Linked DNA regions of Homo sapiens: region 1 is linked to region 2. Evidence: promoter capture Hi-C in 16 types of primary human blood cells and fetal thymus (Javierre and others, 2016). All regions are on one chromosome and are shown on one strand. The core of a region is centred on a gene start or on the middle of the fragment in contact, and the rest is flanking DNA. Distances in the headings are between cores, read along the strand shown.

The links. Contacts are between HindIII fragments. The CHiCAGO score rates a contact against its expected background, and 5 or more counts as called.
Region 1: a fragment that was not itself captured here is called in contact with the fragment with the promoter of QTMAN-AS1 in region 2 in 3 of 17 cell types (megakaryocytes, M0 macrophages and M2 macrophages); the score reaches 5.5 in megakaryocytes.

The regions. Positions count from the first base shown.
Region 1 is chr2:144,325,900-144,333,393 of GRCh38, forward strand. It overlaps QTMAN (queuosine-tRNA mannosyltransferase), which reads right to left and starts at 6,613. Exons shown (of 12, transcript NM_001376312.2): 1 at 6,540-6,613. RefSeq lists a silencer at 6,288-6,887 and an enhancer at 6,669-7,246. The HindIII fragment of the contact is 4,640 bases long and covers 749-5,388 here.
Region 2 is chr2:143,932,481-143,940,149 of GRCh38, forward strand. It overlaps QTMAN-AS1 (QTMAN antisense RNA 1), which reads left to right and starts at 4,587. Exons shown (of 3, transcript NR_110237.1): 1 at 4,587-5,156. It overlaps QTMAN (queuosine-tRNA mannosyltransferase), which reads right to left. Exons shown (of 12, transcript NM_001376312.2): 12 at 5,588-7,669. RefSeq lists an enhancer at 4,011-4,694 and a silencer at 4,889-5,088. The HindIII fragment of the contact is 2,667 bases long and covers 3,891-6,557 here.

The DNA.
Region 1 (7,494 bases), core at 1,819-4,318, 390 kb after region 2:
TGGGTGTTCAATACATGACTACTGTTCTGAAACCAAATTAAAGGTTTAGACTACTAAAGAGTTTGATGACTTGCCTCAAAACAATAACTGGGATTGTATAGAGAACAAAATCAGAGGTCTGTCTTCTTTATGAGCAGGCATTTAAAGGCCTTTTAATGAGAATTTACTCTTTAGTATACAATTACTAATGAACAAAAATAGGGCCATTAAACTCACTTCTTCATAATAAAACTAATTGTAAGAAATATATACATATTAATCAAATTCATGAAAAACTGAAATCTCCAATGCCTTACAAGGCAACATAGTGAAAATTATATAACTTTTCTTCTTAATTAAATGTCCTGTCAGGTGACTGATGCCATTTTTTACATGGATATGCCTACAATTTAAAATACACAGACTCAGCCAGGAACGGTGGCTCACGCCTGTAATCCCAGCACTTTGGGAGGGTGAGGCGGGCGGATCATGAGGTCAGTAGATTGAGACCATCCTGGCTAACACGGTGAAACCCCGTCTCTACTAAAACTACAAAAAATAAGCCGGGCATGGTGGTGGGTGCCTGTAGTCCCAGCTACTCGGGAGGCTGAGGCAGGAGAATGGCGTGAACCCGGGAGGTGGAGCTTGCAGTGAGCCGAGATTGCGCCACTGCACTCCAGCCTGGGCAACAGAGTGAGACTCCATCTCAAAAAAAAAAAAAAAAAAAAACACAGACTCTCCAGTACTAACGATGGCAATGAAACGTCTAAGCTTCTTGAATTAATTTTAAACTTCTATATGAACACTGGCTTCCCACACTGATAACAGAACTTATTGTTGGGAGAAATTTATATCTAATCTATATGTATCACCTGCTATATGTACTGAGTGCTAAGGACACCTCCAGGGAACTGGACAGATTCAGTTCCAACCCTGGGGTACACATGATCTAGATGTAAAGACAGATAATGACCTTGCTTGAGGAATGTGTAATAGATACCTGTGATGTTATTTTATATATACCACACAGAGAGAGAGCAAGATGAGAGAGAGAGGAAGATTCCATGCATGGTTCCTGGCTCATAACTACCACAGCCCTTGATCCAGTCTTTTGCTACGACGTGGGTGTGTTAGGCCTCAGGGAAAGCCTCTGACCTTCTCCTGCCCCAAGACAGACACGCCCTGCCCCCAACCCACAGAGGATCCCATTCTATACCCTGGAGGAAGGAATGCTGTCATAAAGTTTTCACAAAAACCCAAAAGAACTGAGTTCAGAGAGCTTCCAGGTAACTGAACACATGGAGGTTCCTGGAGAGAGATGCACTCAGAGATCACATGGAAGGTCTGCACCCCTTCCCCCATACCCCACCCCACACGTCTCTTCATCTGTTTGCCTTTGCAATATCCATTATAATAAACAAGTAAATGTGTTTCCCTGAGTTCTGTCACTCCAGCAAATTAATAGAACCTAAACACGGGGTGGTGAGAACCCCAATACCTGAACAAATGAAAGCTCAAAACTAAGAGAAGAAAAAGGCAGAAAATTAAACACTTGAAAAATAACGAGCTACCATTGAACTGCATAAAAATCACCGATTTATGGGAGACATCCTTAAGTGTCTCCACTAAGAAAGCAAAGAATCCAACAGCTGGCTAGTCAGGAAAGGCGTTCTAACTCATGACTGGATGAATCCAGGGTGTCCTAGAGTCCCTCATGCAAATGAAAAGCTGACCCTCAAAAAAGTTCAAATTATAGCAGCCATGGAGCCTAGATCTCAGTATCTAAAGGGTCAATCTGGTGATGTGAGTCCAGAAAACAGTATCACAGGATCTTGGCTCTGCAAGACCCCAACCACCTACCTATGGATAAGAATAGGTCCCAGCCCCCTAAAGGTAGGGGAGATAGCAAGGAGAGGGAGATCAAGCTGTTAGGATGCCTAAACATGCTTAAGACAAGGTTCCAGTTCCACAAAGGACCTGGAATACAAAAATAAACCACCCAAGAAACATAAATTCTATGGACTATTTATAAGTTACTAAGAAAAGACTGTGGAATTGCTTCTCTGGTTATTTATTTATTTATTTATTTTGGAGATGGAGTCCCACTCTGTCACCCAGGCCGGCGTGCAGTGGTGCCATCTCGGCTCACTGCAACCTCCACCGCCCAGGTTCAAGCCATTCTCCTGCCTCAGCCTCCGAGTAGCTGGGAATGCAGGCACGTGCCACCATGCCCGGTTAATTTTTGTATTTTTAGTAGAGATGGGGTTTCACCATGTTGGCCATGTTGGTCTCGAACTCCTTACCTCAGGTGATCCACCAGTCTTGGCCTCCCAAAGTGCTGAGATTACAAGCATGAGCCACCACATCTGGCTCTGGTTATTTTTTAAACACTCAAAAAAAATTATCGTCTGTTTAAATGACTTGTGTGATCCTACACAGCATAGGGGAAAAGCACTAGATATTCTTACTAATTGTCTGATTCTATATCCTAACTCCATCTATAACTATTTTGAAATATTCTAGATGCCTCACACACACTTAGTTAAGGTGTTTGTCATTATTTCAAAACTCCTTATGAGAAAAGTGCTTTAAAAATGAAAATCTTGCAGGCAAACTGAGTACATCCAAAGGATATAGTGAGACAGCATACCTTTGTGAGCAATGGATGCTCAGGGCACCAGAATAATTCCAGATCCTTCCCGTTGTAGGTGACAGAGGTCTTAAAATATCTTCGGTCTGAATAGAAGAAACTGATCTGGCAGTGAGTAGGCCAGGCAGACTAGGACTGACATCAGAACCAGCAATTACAGATGTGAGCTGATTTGCTTCCTATAAATTAAACACCATCCTACTCTACCGTACAACTGCTTTCAGTAATATTAGTAGAAAGAAAAAAAAAGAAAGTAGTTCAAAGACGTCCCTATGAAAGCTATTACCTCTATGACTCTACATGTTCAACTAGGAATCAGCCTATGGAATTGGCTCTGCATCTGCTCAGCCCAAATTTTACTCCGGAGATTCAAAGAATGGAGTGTTGGTTTGTACTTCCAAGAGAAATACTTGAAAATTTTCCTCAGTTTTTTTTTAAAAAATAACCAGGCAGGGCACAGAGGCTCACGTTTATAATCCCAACACTTTGGGAAGCCAAGGCGGGCGATCGAGACCAGCTTGGCCAACATGGTGAAACCCCATCAGTACTAAAAACACAAAAAATATTACCTAGGCATGGTGGCGCATTCCTGTAATCCCAGCTACTCAGGAGGCTGAGGCAGGAAACCACTTGAACCAGAGAGGCGGAGGCTGCAGTGAGCTGCTATCACACCATTGCAATCCAGCCCGGGTGACAGAGTGTGACTCTGCCTCAAAAAAAAATAAAAATAAAAAACATGCTATTATTCTGATATTAAAAAAAAAAGAAGAGGTAAGAATATAAGTAAAAGAATACACAGTGTTCTTCATGTAATACCAACAAGAAGCATAACATATCAAATACAACCTAAAACTATTTAAAATATCATTTGGGACAATTTGCCAAGGTAGTCCAAACTCTGAAGTAAAGTTACGTTCCTTATAAAGGTCTATATGCTGAAAAACATATCCTTATAAAATAAAACCAAAATTGTAAAACGTGGCCTATGGTAACAGTCAGAGGGTCACTCAATTCAGGTTGTCACACTTTGCTCTCATGGAAACATTGTATTATTTTAGCTCACCTAAGGTGTTCTATTACTAAAATAATGTTCTTTCCCAATATCAGAGTGACTAACATAAGTTACAGAACAAAATTAGCAGTGTGAAGTTTCTTCTCCCAATTTTTCTAAAGTATCTGACACCTGCTACCTCTTTCAATATTGGAATTCAACCTAACAGCGTACCTGGTTCAACACAAAAAAGGAACTGAGTTAGTTCAAGTTTACTATATCATGATTCAGGACTTCCAGGCACTCTGCTACCTTCAAAAATTAGATTAAGCCCAACAAGATCATAAGCATTTAAAGAGTACCCACTACACATGATAACAGGTATACACAGATGAGTAGGACATAGCCGAACTTTCACGAAGCGCCTACCAGGAAAGTGCGCACAGGCCAACAAGTATTTACTAAATGTCTACACTAAACACTGTACTCTGGGATGTAAAAAATTCATCGCACCACAGCAAGAACTTCAGGACTCATGCACTTGAGGTCCACTTTGAAATGCGAGATTGGGCGTGCTGGAATTAGATTATTACATGTGATAGGATTTCCCTTCCTAAGTGATAGTCATGCATCACATGACATTTCAGTCAACAAAACATCGAATATACAACTGTGGTCCCATAAGATTATAATACCGTATTTTTACTGTACCCTTTCTAAGTTTAGGTGTGTTTAGGCACAGTATTCAGTACGGTAACATGCTGAACAGGGATGTAGCCCAGGACTAATAAGCTATATACCATATAGCCTAGGTGTGAAGTAGGCTATACCATGTAGGTTTGTGTGAGTACATTCTATGATGCTCCCACAAGTACACATTTCTCAGAACATACCTGTCATTAAATGACACATGACTAAACCACGGTTTATATACACCATAACTCTAAGACTCTTAAAATACCAATCTGCTGGAAGTGACGTAGGCTATCCGAATCAAAAATATGAATCGATTCTTGAAGCGCAAGATAATTGCTAATTCAAAAACACTGGAAAGTAATGTTTAAACTCACAGAATGTAAATACTTCCTAACTATGTACAATTCATGGCATTTTAATCTAATGGGTCCAAATCATAAATTAAGGAAAAAAATTTCATTTAATTACTTGGCTTTTTAAGATACCATAATCAAACAAACTTTAGTACCATAATCAAACAAACTTTAGTACAAGAGGTCTGAATTACCTAGTTAAGTGTTTAGTTAATGAAGACTACTAGTTCTATTCAGCTCCTGCTAAATCTCATCAAGAAACTGTCTTCGATTCTTAATTTCTCTATAAAATAATGGGATTGGATTATACTGTTAATGTTCCTTAAACATCGAAAATTCTGTATTTCTGTGATGCATAAGATTAAAATGCCAACACAATTTTCAAATCAAGACTAAAGAAGCCATCTTAACCTTTGCAAACTGGTGATGTTAAAAAATTTACTATTTCCTACCTTATTGCAAGTATCATGCTTCAGATTTTACCTATTCATTGTTTTCAAGCATGTCAAAGAAAGTTTCGTGATTCAAGAGGTACTCCTCTAATCCTCAATACTAAAACTGTTTCATTAAATACAGTACAGGACCCTAAGGAAAATGTATACCAAAAGGGAGTGGGAGCCGAGAAGAATCTAATCCAAGTCAGACCTGGAACGCACTAATTAAAATTCAATATTTCACTTGGTATGTGGGTTCCTACATGAAACTCCTGTCATGGTTAAAGCTTAAGGTTAAACACGTTAATAGAAGCCAATAGAATGGCTCTATTGAATTGTACTGAACTTCTTTTTCAGCAGCTCCTTTACCTAACCACTATTTTAAGCTTTAAAATCAACTTCAGGGGTAGGCACCAAATAACCAAGTGAGCCACGGCAGCCGGGGCTGCAAACTGAAATCCATCTCGTATGGAAAATCATCATCAACTCACGTTTTCCATTTCAAACTGCGATACAGGTGGAAGAAAAGCTGTAAAAGCCTTCTCTTTGAAACTCCCATCACACGGCCTCAAGGCATTAACTTAAGAATCTCAAGATAACCTAAAGCAGCACAGTTGTCAGAAGACTCTAAAAGTTGTATGTGCGAGAGAAGGCAAAAAAACTACTTCGGGACTAAAGGTTAAATTTCGCTGCTGCATTCCCAAGACTTAAATTCAGAGAATCTTTCCACCTGGACAGAATGGGATTGTCTGGATCCCGATGAAAATGGGAAGTTATGTGCTTAATCCTCAGACGAGGGATTCCGGGGTGGGGGGCACAGTGAGGGTCTTCACACTCGGCTGGCAGAGAGGAGTGGGGCGCTGGGGAGGTCTGGTAACTGAGGGCGACTAGGAGCCAGAAGCGAAGCTTTCCGTCAGGAAGGCCTGGGGCTCGCACTGCAAGGGGCCAAGCGCCGGGCAGCCTGGTGGTCGGCGAAGCACCCCAGCCAACTCAGGCCAACCCGGACGCCCGGCCTCCCTTCTCCCGCGCGAGGGCGACGTGCCCCCACCCGTCCTCTCAGCCTGCGCGAGGAAGAAGCGGAGCGCCGGGCCGCAGAAAACCAGCACGCACGACATGTAGGCACCAAAAAAACGCAATTCGAACACGACCAGTTTGCAGAAGGCACAAAATGCCACGGCGTGACGCCCCATTCCGAGCGCGGTGCGGACGGCGGCGCAGGGAGCGCAGCGCGTGCGCCCGGGAAGCGCGCGGCTCTCAGCTCCGCCTCCCCCACACCCCCCGCCCCCGGCTCCCCGCGCCGCAGCCGCCGCTGCTGCCCCTCTGGGATCTCCGCGCAGCGCGGCCCCGCGAGGCGGGCGCCGGGGAGGGGAGGGGAGGGGCCGCGCTCCCCGCCTCCCCGCTGGCCCGCGCGGCTCCCCAGCCCGGAGCCTACTCACCTCCTCCTCCTCCTCCTCCTTGTCTCTCCCTCCTGGCCACCGGCGCGGCCCAGCCGGCGACGCGCTGACGCCGTGCCCCTCCCCCGCGGCCGCCGCGGATGCCGCCGCCCCTCCCGGCCCGCGGCCGCCTCGGCCTCCGGGCGCGTCAGGCGCTGGTCCCGCCCCTCGGCCCGCCCGCGCAATCGAGGCTCCGCCTCTCTGCGCCGCCCGGACTCCGCTGGCGCGAGGTCCCTGAGTCAGCGGCGCTCCCGCCCGCGCGAATCGCTCCGCCCCAGCCCGCGGGCTCGGCTCCTCGCACCTGCCCACTGTCCCCCGGCCTCGCACTGCTCCCCACCTCCCTGTGCGCCCTTTCCCATCTCGTCAGCACCCTGTCCGCCCTTTCAGCTTTTTCGTACTCTTTCCCCAACCTCCTAGTCCTGTTCTAAGCTCGCATAGTCACCTTCTCTTTCCTTCTGGAAGGTCTGTGCTGTTCATTAGGTCGACCTCGGATTCCCCGTGCAGTTTTCCAGCCGGCCCGTTGCATCTCCTTTCCTGGTCCACTCCCCGGCCTACTAGAGCCTCAGGGCCCCTGTGCGGGTTCCTGGCTCCCTTGCCGACACCTCTACCTGCTCTGCAGCCCGGAGCTCCTCCACAGCTGCTTTGCCAATGCCTCTTAATATCCCTCCTTCTGGACCTCCTCGATTCCCTCCTGGCAAGGCTCATGCTTTCCTTTATCTCCATTTTTCCCGTCCTTTCGGTTCTGACTACTCCACACACTTCTGATGCAGTTTGAGTATTCAATAATTGCATATTCGCGGTCCCATTTACACGAGGAGAGTCACATTGAGTAATTAAAAATCACAAAGCAAAGCGACAGCAGTGGAGACCATCATTTGACTTGCATAGTTCCATCTATATTTTCCTTATGCAATAATATTCTCATTGCCACTTGAATTTCAAGGAATGGGATTTTCTG
Region 2 (7,669 bases), core at 3,337-5,836:
GATCTAAACTTAAAAGAAATCTTACTCTACTCGCTCTTTTCTATGGCTAAAGGAGCAAAGAGTTAATTACCTTGTTACATTCATCTCTCCTTCCAAATTTTCCAGGAGCTTTTCCCTTCATTAGCCATCAGATGAAACTGAAGAATATTTATTATTTATTGTGTGTGTTAAATTTTATGTCTTTTCTTCTTAATGTTTAAAATGCATGAGTTTACTACTTTCTGTATTCTCTCCTTAAAAAAGCAATATTTTTGTTGTTGTTGTTTTTATTGTTTGTTTACCTGCAGTCCTCAAATGACTTTTCTTAGGGTCAATAATTCTTCATAAAAAGCAAAATGAAAAGATACTTCTGGCATGCTTTAGATTAATCGCAAGAAGCAAATAGTTTCCCATACATTTTTCTTATTCTTAATTCCTTTCTTTTATCTTTTATCCGATTTAAATATAATACCTATAAATGGCCACTCAGTAATGGTTAAGTTATATGGTTTTACTTCAGGGCTCAATAGTAACTTATTAAAGTATATTTTATAAAATGATTTGGCTGTCAAGATAACGGGACTATAGCAATGACTTATGTGCACACTGTGGGTCACTGCTATGGCTCTAAGTCGGTTCTAAAGGGAACATGATATGCACACCTACATGCCAATTTCAATCTTGATTATCTACTGCAATTTATTAGACTAGAGGAGTTCCGAAGAGTTTATTCATTTTAAGCCTTGTTTAACTTGCCTAGAAATGAACTGCTAGATAAAGTATCAGTAGGAAAGCATGTCGAATAATTCCTCCACTGAAAATCATCATTATTTTTGCACTTACAATAGGCAAAATATAAGAGTGCATTATACATAGTCTTGTTCATTTTATGTATTTATGGCTTATTTCTATATTGTAAATGCCTTAAACACAGAAAATGCCTCTACTTCTCTGTCTCCCACAATGGGAATATGGATATCTTTTAGTACTTGCTTCACTTAAGAATGCTGGGCTTGAATAAAAAAACTAGTTCACATGTATCACAAAGGTTTACTTAAAAGTTTCCCCTAGTTGTTTAATATCTGAATGCAAAAATCTAGGTTTGATTTGGAAATGATGATGCTTGTAATGATTATGTCTTATCTCCTCCAAGCAATTTGGAAAGCTTTGTCTGATAAACCTCTTTTATCCCAGTTCTATCTTCTGCTATTCTTACCTCCCTTCCCCCTCCACTTTTTCCAATCTCCTTCCTCTTTATCCCTAACATTATTATTATTTTTTGGATTCACTCTTATACTCTGTACACACTTGAGCAATTACGTAGGAAAAAGGAGTCTGGCATTTTCTTATTGTAACCCAAAGAAAAACAAGCTTAAGCATATCTTGATAACATAAAAAGCCAATGGATTCATTTTTGGGGGAAAAAAATCTGACCAGAAAGAAAACAAATAGACTTTCAAAATATAACATTTAGATTGAAAAAAAAAAAGTATAATGGGTCAGTTTGTTTACTTAGAGAAGGTATTCTTAATGTTCTTAATTATGTATGAGTACATAATCTAGGTTGGTACAATTTTAGATGAAGCTGCTAAAACTAAAATGTTTGAGAAAACAGATATTGCTAAATAGTACAGAGAAACCACTTTATACAGCACCATTTTTTCATTGAACACTCAACTGAGAAGTAAAACATCCAGAACATGCCCAGTTTATTGGGAGTTTGTTTTCATATTTCTGCATGTGTTTATAAAAGCATTTCAAGATGTAGCTTTTTACTGATTCTACCTTGTTAAAAAATCAATCAAGCAACCATCATTTGCTAATAAATGTTTTTATCACAGCTTTCAAACCTTTTTCAAGACATCTGAGCTCATCTTCACTTCCTCCTTCTTGAAAAAGAGACCCCATGGTGTGACACTCTAAAACCACCTCTGGATTTAAAACTATGGCTGCCTGGAATTGAAGGCCCAGTTGCTGAGATTCCCTGATTTGCAAAGCAAGGGAGAGTTCCTAACTGAATAACTTGAGTTTGTAACTAAAAACAAAAACAAAAACCTGCTCATCTATTGCAAGTAAGTATACTCCCTTTGTTACATGGTATGCAATTAGATGCCTTTGAAATAAAAGGTAAGTTAAATCAGAAGTCTCGGGGACAAGAAAATACTATTTTAAAACAGGGAGTGTCAGATGTTTTTCAATTCAGTACCAAAGGGTATTTCACAGGTAATTTCTCAGGGCTGATGTTAGCTAATTATTAGCTACCATATCCTGCCTGCCATTCTTAGTGACTATCTCCTGGCAGAAAGACACAGCTAGGAGTGTTTTGTTTCATTTGTCCTTGGAGTTTTTATCAGCATCAAGAAGGTGGACTGAGCCAAAGTTAGAAGAATTCTGGAGCTAAGCAAAAAGCGACACGTTTAACAGCCCCCATTAATTGGGGCTGTTACATGATTAATTTGAGAAAAACAGAAGAGACCGATTTCTTTACAACTCACAGTTGGATGCAACGCACTAAAAGTAATCCTGTAAATTACATTTTAAATCTCCAACATATTCCGAGCAGATAAAATAGTGGCATGATTGACCAAACTCCTTTTAAAAGTACACATATTACGATGCATCATAGTTATAAACAGATGGTATTTGGCCTCCTTCCTATTCTCAACATTTGGAATTTCTAAACTATGTGAATTAAACAATAATATTTTATAAACATACAAGGGATTTTGCTCACTGCTTTGTTAACATAGAAATTATACAATGCTGACATTTATTTAAATTTTAAAAAGTAAACAACAGTGTGCATCGAAATAAAGCAAACTAAAATCAACATAGAGAAGTATGTTCTGTGTGCGTACTACCTACAATGGCACTGGCCTTTTAAAGGGAAGACATAATGGGTTGAAGAACAAATTGTAGCATAGATCGGCCTAATCCCTTGTACTCCAAGGCTCATTTAACACCTCTCTGTAAACAACGGATATTTATACCATAATTGGCTATTTGACCATCAGTGTTCATTTACTATGTAACCTGCTATTATGGAGTTAAAAGAAGCTCCCCTTCATTGGCTCGTCAGCTTTCAGAGTAGCGAAAGTGTCCTCGCAGTTTTAAAAACACTTACACAAACGGGAATCAGTCTGACACTTGTACTCAGAATGAGAAACATTATCATGATATCAATAAGTATATATTTATTCTTTGGGGGATATTATTGCCAGAAAGAAAAGGAAATATATTAGATCTGAGTGTCATTTCCTAAGATTCTTTTCTAAAATTATAGCTTTAACCCTTTAGCCGCAGTTTGGAAGGGAGACCCATCTGCTGATTTGATGTACTAAATAGAAGGCACTTGGTTTCCAAACACTATTCTCAGATTCGCAAAGTTGCGCTGTGATGAATAAATAATGAATCAGATATTTCAATCCGTTTTATGATTTTTGAAAGCCCTGATTATCATTGTTTACAGTCTCTTCTTAATGCACTTCCCATGCGTTCTTGTTCAGCCTTCCAAGAGTTGGTTTATGTAGGCCACCCTCTCCCAACCTCGCTTTACTTTTGGACTGCTCTCACGTGTTAACCCACCCGCTCACACCTTTAAACCAGTTTGGGGAATATTTCAAATCTGAGGGGGGAAATCTTGAGCGACAGATGACAAGGAGTATTCGCAAACACTCCAGGCTAATGTTGCTTGTATTTGGTCACAGGTGTGCCCTGCTTTTGCGTACTATAATATCTCTATTGGTGAGAAAGAGGGAGAAAATTATGCTAAAACCACATGGATAGAAAGGAAAACGGCACTGCTGAAATCAGGAAGGATCAGCATTCCTTTTCTCCTATACATACGTGTGTATACTCAGATAAATAATGATAAATCACGGCAGTGTGAGGGAGGCTTTTAACAAAATACAAGCTTCAAAATAGGAATATCTTCACAAGTTTTCAAAAAGCTAATCAGAGCAAATGAGTGACAAATCAATGTAATGCTTCTAAATATTCTCCTGCCCCAATATTGCTTAACTCCTCTTCTCCACTCCTCCTAAATAACCAGTTGGTGGTGAGGAGGAGAAATGAGGTTTGTATTTCAATATACAGGTGTGAAGTGAAAAAGAAAGCGTCCGGGGGGTGAGATTTAAATCACATATCCGAACATACCAGAGACAGGAGTTATTCTAAACTGTGTAGATAAAATCCCTTTCGGAGAGTCCCCGTGCCCATCCCCACTCCCCTTCGCGGGATTGCTGAGGGCAAGTTATGTTTTTTGAAAAGGTAGTAGGCATCGGTGTTTCTGGTTTTGCTTAGTGCGTCTTCATCGTATTCCCTCGCTGAGGACTGAGCCTGGCCGACTCAGGGAACCGAGTTCAATGAAATCCTCAGACGCATAAAGCACAGGGTGCCGGCCCACCGAGCTGCGCTCCCTTCCCGGGGGTGCCCGAGAGAGAGCACGCGAGCCCGGCGCAGCCAAACCCGGGCAGGGGTGGGTCCCCACCGCGTGTGCGTGTGCCAGCCTGGGAGTGTCGGCGCGAGCGTGGCGGGTGCGTGCCGGTGTGTGTGCGTGACAGCGCGCGCGTGGCAGGGAGTTCGCGCGCCAGGGTGCGCGTGCCAGCGCGGGTGTGCGAGGGAGTGCGCGCGGGTGGGAGCGCCAGGGGCTGGCGGGGCCCGCGCCCTGGGACGAGCCCCTCGTGCTCCGGCTCTGCGCTCCCGCAGCGCCCACGCAGCCGAGAGGAGTGGGTGATGACTTCGTGACCTCAACGTCCTCCCCCGTCCCTCGACATGTTCCCGCGCCTGAAAGGTGCAGAAAACTCCCCCCACCGCTCTGGACGAGACTGAGCTAGGCGTCGAGGGCGGGCGCCGCCGCAGACCGGAGCTCGGGCTCGCTGGCCGCTCAGGCGCAGCGGTGTGGAGGGAACGGACGCGCGGCAAGGCGACCCGCTCTGGGCAACGCGGGCGCAGCTGCCCCGACGCAAGGCACTAGCTGGTCGGGGGCTCGGGCGAGCCGGGGCCGGCGTGCCGGGGCGTGCGCTCTCTCGGCAGGCGAGCGCCGGGCTCCGCGGAGGTCCCTGCGCCCACTGCCTGCTTCTCCGCCCGGCGACCCGGAGTCCCCAGGCTGCGGTGCGCCAGGCCAGACCTGACCGAGGGCGGAAGACCCGAGCGGCAGGGAGGCAGAAAGAAAAGAGGTAGCAAGCCCCAGACAAGGGATCCTTAATTACAGATAAAAGGCAAACAAAACCGTACACCACATTTTCCACGTGTCAGCTGACGGCCGCGACAAAAGGAAACAGAACGCTGGGGGGTGGGGGGGAGGCCCCTTCTTAGCTGCCCCCCACCCCTTGACAATGTGTGCAAATGTAAAATGCATTAGGTAGTAACTCTGGATAGGTGGTGCCCGGGGCCAAATTGCAGCTGCACGCTCCATCGTGTAGGACAGTTTGCTGATGCACCCAGAGGTCTGGGGAACCTCTTACAAAAAAGGGACTACAAATACTCCGCTTGAGCACATTTTGCTTCTTAAAACTTCATTACTCATACATTTTAAGTTAAAAATTTTGTGCTTAAAGTGTTGCAATTATCTTCAGTAAAATTCTAATACACACACACATACACACAATTTTGTTTTGCAGTTTTGTAGATTCCATTTTATTGGCCTGGTATCACAGCATTAGAAATACAAGGGGAAAAGCCAAGACGATGAAAGCCAGGGAACATAGCTGCAAGCACCAGAGAGCACAAGTTCCCCTCCATGGCTCTGCGGCTCAAATGGAAAAAGGAGAGATGTCTGCTTTGATTTCTTTCCTTTTAATTAATCAGGATCACAAAGCAATCTCCACCCTGTCCCTGGGATTTAAGATACTGGTTAAACTCCACCGTGTCCCGAATTCTCCACAGAAGGTGGAGGAGTGTTCAGAATCTGAAGTCCACCCGCGGACCATTAAAAACCTCTAGGTCTGTGCCCTCATTTTTAACACTCAAATTAAAGGATCACCCTGAGCCACCACGCAGTGCACTCTTCTCTATTTTCTCCCTCTTGTTGCTGGGCCGGTTTTGGAAATTAGAAGGGGTGGTCTCTTTGTTAGCAATCTGTTTACTTTCTTCTGATACAATGAAGCATCAGGTCGAAGGTGACAAGGCTTCTTTGCTTAGTCATTTTTACCCATCTCTTTGTAGATGATGTTTTTTTCCATTTTCAATTTTTTTTTTCATCAATGCCATCTCCCCAACAGCATTTCAAAAATAAAATTTCCAAGTCCTTTTTTTAAATGTGGTTCCAGTCAAATGATTTACCCACACCCCAAATAATATTATTTACATCCAGTATTAATAGCTGCATATCAGTAATTCTTAGAGATCTTCTGATCCATATTTAACAATTTAAATGATGGCTAACATTATTGCCAGGCAAATGCCTGAACCAATAGTTTGTGGACTAGTTGCCAGCCAGATGACAGCCAGGTATACACAGGGTAAGAACATAATTAAGTTTCTGCCCTAGTCTCTTCAATTGCAGAAGGCAGACAACACTCTTTCTCACCTTCCAGGGAAGTAGATTAGCAGATTAACAAAATGATGTAAATCACATAAGCTTTACATCCCCCTTCCCCTTCTAATACCTATTTAGGAACACTTTAAAATTTTTCCTTTAGGCATCTAGTCTTTCTGTGGTTTAGCCACATGCTCTCCCCTTTTTGGCTTTCTCCTTCTGTAAAATAAGTAAGGTGAAAGAGCAGATTAGGAGTTTTTCTTTTTCTTACAGCTTTCCTGTGTTTGAGTGGATCATCCTGTTGCCATCGTTTTAGTCCAGTTGTTGTTAATTCATGTTCTTACCACCCACCAAAGAATAGCACAGGATTAAGTTTATATTAATAAATGATGTTCATGAGTAGGTTTTTAAATGCCAGAGTTATGATTTATTTTTTTAAATGGGTGGAGAAAGGAGAGCGGCAATAACTAGCTCCCAAGTCATTCAAAATCCTGGCATCACACATCTATGTGGGTTTTTCTTTCTTTGTTTTGGTCTTTAAGTTTTTTGGACACACCTCTTATTTCCCTTTTAGTCCTATATCATGGAATAAATGCTTTTTTTGACTATCTTTGTCCATAGCTTGAAACCCTGTTTATTACAGTTAAATTTATAGAAAGTATTATATGGTCCTCTTTTCTTCTTCTTAAGAGCTTATAATTGTCCCTGTTTATCTCCCCACCCATTAAGAATTCTGTAATAAATCCCTGCACCAAATAAATTAAAATCTGCAACTTCAGACACCCGAGGAAGAGGACATTAATCCACTTAGTAAAATACTCAAGACCTCCCCCTCTCAATTTCAGCTCTTCTTAATGTAACATTCAGTAATTACAGCTGGCTCCTTATACTTCCCTCCCTCCCTTTTATTCTGAATTATATTGGCCTTGCTTAACCTTCATTTCCTTTTCTACCCCCCACATTTGTCCACATACTTTTCTTTGACCATGTTTGTCTCTTTCTCTTTCTTTCTGCTGTGTGGATTGAGGGCAACAAATGAAGCTTTCCAAGAGCTTAATACTTGCCCGTAAAATCCCATCCTACCTCCCCATTCCACTATTAACGTTTTGTACAATTTTTATGCATCCTTCAGTTGTGTAGTTACTGCTCTATATTTTTCTGATTGATCATTAAGTTATGCTGGCTTTTCAGAACTGTCTCCATAATCCTGAA